Regions from separate parts of the Homo sapiens genome. Here region 2 is linked to region 1. Evidence: promoter capture Hi-C in human tissues and cell types (Jung and others, 2019). All regions are on one chromosome and are shown on one strand. The core of a region is centred on a gene start or on the middle of the fragment in contact, and the rest is flanking DNA. Distances in the headings are between cores, read along the strand shown.

Region 1 (2,731 bases), core at 173-2,672:
AAAACTTTTTTTCTCTTTACTTGATTCCTCCATAATTAGAAAACCATTTGTGAGTCTTCTTATGGTAATATGGTCATTTCAATAAGTCTAATAAAAATCTGCTCTCTCTGTATAGCAGAATACAATTGGAAACTGGTTATATTACCAAGGCTTTGACTGAAAGGTCATTTTTAAAAATATTGAGGCCGGACGCGGTGGCTCACGCCAGCAATCCCAGCACTTTGGGGGACTGAGGTGGGTGGATCGTTTGAACCCAGGAGTTCGAGAGCAACCTGGACATGGCGAAACTCCATCTCTACAAAAAATACAAAAATTAGCCAGGTGTGGTGGTCTGTGCCTGTAGTCCCAGCTTACTAGGAAGGCTAAGGTGGGAGAATCGTTTGAGCCCGGGAGGCTGAGGCTTCAGTGCTTCAGTGAGCAGTGATCCTGTCACTGCACTCCAGTCTAGGCGACCCTGTCAGGGAGACCCAGTCTCAGTTAAAAAAAAAAAAAAAACCCAAAACCCAAAAAACTAAAACTAGAATGGTATTTTCTACTGGGAATGTGGATTTGTGGATTGATGGTGAAATACTGGAAATTTAAAGCCTACACTAGAATCCATTGAAAAAAGCAAACAAGAAAAACTTCAAGGTTGGCTACATTGAATTTGAATGTAAAGATTAAAAAAAAATAAGTAAAAAACAAAAGAAGACATAGATCCAATCCCATATACCAGGAAATGCACTCTAAGGTATATACGGAAAATATATTTAACACATGTGTATCAGGACGCAGGCACAAGTAACTTCAAAGCAGCGCTGTTTCAAATAGTAAAAAAAGGAAAAACTGGAAACTGTTCAAAAGCTTCATCATCTCGATGATCTTGGTCTTCCGCCTCGCCTTCTTCTCCAAGGTGAATATGTACTGGGCCAGCACCACCCCCGCCACCAGGGCGCACACGCTGGCGCTCGCTACCGCGACCACCCTCGCCACGGTCGCGCGGTGCATGGACGGGGCCCTCATGAGTGTCCCGGCAGGAAAAAAACACCGCGATTGGGACTCTCAGAAGCGCAGGATCCCAGAGCACCATGGACAAGCCAGTGACGCCCCGCCCCCACTAGGCCCCACCCACACGCACCGAGGGGAGAGGGCGGTCACGCGGCCGGGGGGGCGTGGCCTGCCCCCGGAGCCCAGGCAGGAGGAGGGTCTTCCTTAAGGAACTGCTGCCAGGACAGGGCAGAGGATTGCAGTAATTATCACTCTCTGCTAATGAGGACCAGGCCGTGGTTCACTCGAGCCCCGCCCCAGTAGCAATCTAATTCCAACCGCGGCCCTCTCAGAAGTCGGTCCCCGCCTTTGCGCCTCAGCCTCTCTGGACTCCAGCCCCCAGAAGTCGGCGCGGCACGGCGTGACCTGCGCAGTGGCGTCCGTTGTAAGTGCTATGACAACAGGGCGAAGATGGCTCAGAGTTAGGCTGGAGAGGGGAGGTGTCCCTTCCGCTGCGGCCGTCGGGTTTCTGCTACATCCCATTCACCGCCTCCTCCATCCTTTCCTCCTCGGTGTGAGCAGCAGGACTTGCATTTGTTCTCGCCTGCCTAGTGTCTTCCAAGGGATAGATGCCGTTTCCTCTGCTGGTCTCTGGGGGTGACGGGGGGCGCAGGGGAGCTTCTTGGGGGAATCACTCCAACTCTGTGGAGCTGGTGGTGCTGCCTGGTGGGGCTCTCTCTTTGCCCGGGACGTGGAACAACTTTCAGCTGGAGGACGAGAGGGAATAGTGAAGCTAAAGGTTGCTTTTCTCTGCACCGTCCGTTCTTGCTCCCTCTGCTCCATCACTGGGACCTTGTCAGGCGTTCATAAAGCAAAATTTGCCGAACGAGGGTTCGCAGAAAGGTGGGGCAGAGCTCATCTGACGTGGCATCAGGTAAGATGGTATGTCTGTTGTTAAACTTCGGGTACATGAATACCCTTTCCATGTTTTATTTTGTGAACAAGATTCTCTAATGCAGTATAATGGTTTGGAGTCTGTAAGGTGATTGATTTCTTAGATGTTTGCACTGAAATAAACAAACACTAGGAGCACAAAGTGTATGAGATTCTGTGAGTACTTTTGAGAAAAAAGGGATGAGAATTTTTAAGGATTCCATTGAGGAATGTCACTTGGAGCATGAGCATCCTCCTGAGACACTTCAACAGGTCTGTGAGTAAATGGGCAAAGCAGTTCCCAGCCTACGACTGAAGTAGGATGCATGTACTAATACCCCCAATCCTTCTAGTAATAGGATTATTGTTTCTCCTCTTGTTACTTGGAGACCACAACAGTTTAGATGAGCTGCGCTGATTTTATCAGCACCTCCTGCCAGTCAAATCCTGCCTTTGACTTCAATTTCCTGGAGAAATGTATTTTTTTGGGTATCTCACTTTTACTTTAAAAATGAAACCGTATCTTACAGGTATACACATCTTACATGTCCTCATTGATAAACAACTTGAAAGATGCTGCAGGATAAGCTATGGGTCTTAAGTTGGCCAGCATTCAGAGAAAGATTTTCTAACTTATTAGCATTTTATAAAGAAAACAATTACTGAGATTTTTTTCATGAATATACGGAAGAATTAAAAAAAAAACTAGAAAACCCAGAAGTTTTTAAAGAAGAATTTTAAAAAACTTTATTTTGAAAATAAGTTACAAGTTATTTGTCAGAGTTTAAGGGATTTTTCCTTGTGTGTAATTGTCGTGGTTAAATTACAACTA
Region 2 (2,731 bases), core at 75-2,574, 550 kb before region 1:
TTGGTGAAGTGCTTTTAGCAAGCCGTGGCTGTCGGAGAGATGCAGCCATACATACATCCTTATGTCCTCACCACTTTTTGGTTCATCTGTATGTTCTTCTCGTGTATTCTGAAAATGCACATGCTTAAAAGGTTAATAAATTAATTCATAACAAATAATAATTTAGCTTCTTTTCTCAGTAATTCTAATTTTGGATGGTTACAGAGTGACTATTGTGTGTGTGTCTATATGTGTCTGTGTGCGTGTGTGAGATTTTTTTAAAATTGTACCTAACACTTCTTTTATCTTATCTTTTACCCAGTTCTGTTCAGAATAGTGAACGTGGCAAAAAAATTGGAAACGTCATGGTCACAACTAGCCGGAATGTTGTACAAACAGGAAAAGCTGTTGGTAAGACATGCCTTTAGCCAGGAACAAATTGGAATCACAACACATCCATTTTCTATCTTTAATATGTAATTGATAAAACAAACATAAAGTTGTAAAGATCTGTGTTATCACATAGTAATACAAGAGTTTTTTAAATTTTTGTCATATTCATTTGAAAAATTCCAAATTCCAAATGGTCAAACTCCATTATCTAATAGAGAGTGACAAAATTTTCTGATGAAGTCACTGTTTTGCTACCAAGATTCAAGCTGCACCAGAGTTTTCTTCCCCCATTCCCTGTGCTGTCCACAGTTCTTTATAAATGGCAGAGACTCATAATAAAAGTAGGTATTAGGAACTGCTATCCTCTAAGGTAGTATTACACAATAAAGAAAATGAAGCCAACAGTTGGTTTTTCAAAAAGATCAACAATATTTATAAAATCTGGTAAAGATAAAAAGAAAGAAGGTACAAATTACCAACGTTAGGGATGAAAGAGGGACATTACTGTAGCTCTTACAGAAATTAAAAGAACAGAAAATAGGGGAATATTGTGAACAACTTTATGCTAACCAGTTTAACAACATAAATGAAATATACAAATTTTTTTAAAGATTCGCATTACCAACACAGTTGCAAAAAGAAAATATGAATAGCCCTATTATCTATTAAAGAAATTGGGCCGAATGCAGTGGCTCATACCTGTAATCCCAGCACTTTGGGAGGCTGAGGTGAGAGGATTGCTTGAGTCCAGGAGTTCAAGACCAGCCTGGGCAACATAGTGAGACCCCATCTCTAAAAAAAAATTTAAAAAGTCAGTAGGCATGGTGGTGTGTGCCTGCAGTCCCAGCTACTTGAAAGGCTGAAGTGGGAGGATTGCTTGAGCCCAGGAAGTCAAGGCTGCAGTGAGCAGTCCAGCCTGGGTGACAGGGCAAGAGTCTTAAAGAAAGAAAGAAATTAATTGAATTTAACGTGAAAAGCCTTGCCATAAGGTTTTTAATTTAAACCAGGCTGCCCAGGTGGCTTCAGTTTGAACTCTGTCAAATGTTTAAGGAAGAAATACTAGTTTTACACAAAATCTTTAAATAAGGTAATACTCCCCAACTCATTGGATGAGGCCAATATTAGTATCAAAGTCAGACAAATGGTAGCATGCTCTTCTGCACCTAGCTGTTTTCGCTTAAAATATTTTGAATATTGTTCCACATCAGTTCTAAAATTTTTCATTCCTTTTCTATATTTTTAACTTTTTATTTTGATGTAGTTTCAAACCTGAACATTGCAACAGTGCAAGAAACTCCCAATTATCTTCTGATTCACCAATTATTTACATTTTGCCCCATCTGCTTTGTCATACAATGTGTTGTAAAAATAGGGCATTACTACTTCCCTAGCTTCTGAAAGAGGTTGACTAACCGTTACTGAACACAATTCAAAAGCCCCAGAACTAAGTAATCTTTGTGTAGGTGTCCTTATATCCCTAGTTTTCTGAATACCTAGAGAGAGACAGAAAACTCTACAGACTCATTTGTAAAGACAACACACAGCGCTACCACTAGATTAGTTTTATTGCAAAGGAATGGAATTTAGCACACAAACATTTATTTCCAAACAATATGCCTTTGGCTTATTTTGAATTTTTATTTTTTAATAGAAAAACTATGCTATATTATAGATTATTATAGATACATCATTATACGTTATTATTTTTTAGTGATGCTGCTACTGATAGTTAAATTCTAAAGCCAAATCTCTTCTATACTCTTCTGTCCAAGAATAGTGGGAGTGTATTAGTCAACTTAAATAATTTCACTTAGCATCACCTTTTTTTCCTGAGACAGGGTCTCACTCTGTTGCCCAAGCTGAAGTGCAATATGGTGCGATCTTGGCTCACTGCAATCCCTGCAACCCCTGGCAGGATCCTCCTTCCTCAGCCTACCAAGTAGCTGGGACTACAGGCATGTGCCATCATGCCTGGCTAATTTTTCTATTTTTTGTAGAAAGAGGGTTTCGCCATGTTTCCCAGGCTGTCTCGAATTCTTGGACTCAAGCTAACCACCCGTCTCGGCTTCCCAAAGTGCTGGGATTACAGGTGTGAGCCACCATGCCTGGCCTAACATCAACTTTTGAGATACTGTTCTATAAAACACAATAGACCTGGGGCAGATAGAGCTCTATACATCTTTGTGTAACATAACTTCATTTTAGATGACAAAAGCACATTTCCCTACAACAGTCTAACCACTCTTCCCTGTTTAGATGGTTATTGATTATCAAGTTGGTATTGAAGATACACAAAGCAGTTTGACTTTTTAAGCTCTCTAATAATTCTGATACATAGCCAGTGTTGCTAGCACTGAGG

Evidence for each region. The method cuts DNA at HindIII sites, captures the fragments that hold promoters and counts their contacts. A contact is called where the count stands out against the background at its distance.
Region 2: a fragment that was not itself captured here is called in contact with the fragment with the promoter of BBS9 in region 1 in 1 of the 25 tissues and cell types used here (dorsolateral prefrontal cortex).

The regions. Positions count from the first base shown.
Region 1 is chr7:33,128,142-33,130,872 of GRCh38, forward strand. BBS9 (Bardet-Biedl syndrome 9) reads left to right here and starts at 1,423. Exons shown (of 23, transcript NM_198428.3): 1 at 1,423-1,900. RefSeq lists enhancers at 836-885, 1,376-1,485 and a silencer at 1,026-1,325. The HindIII fragment of the contact is 11,941 bases long and covers 1-2,731 here.
Region 2 is chr7:32,580,501-32,583,231 of GRCh38, forward strand. It overlaps AVL9 (AVL9 cell migration associated), which reads left to right. Exons shown (of 16, transcript NM_015060.3): 15 at 302-390. It also overlaps the pseudogene DPY19L1P1. Among named protein-coding and RNA genes, the nearest start is that of AVL9, 86 kb to the left of the region's middle. The HindIII fragment of the contact is 9,751 bases long and covers 1-2,731 here.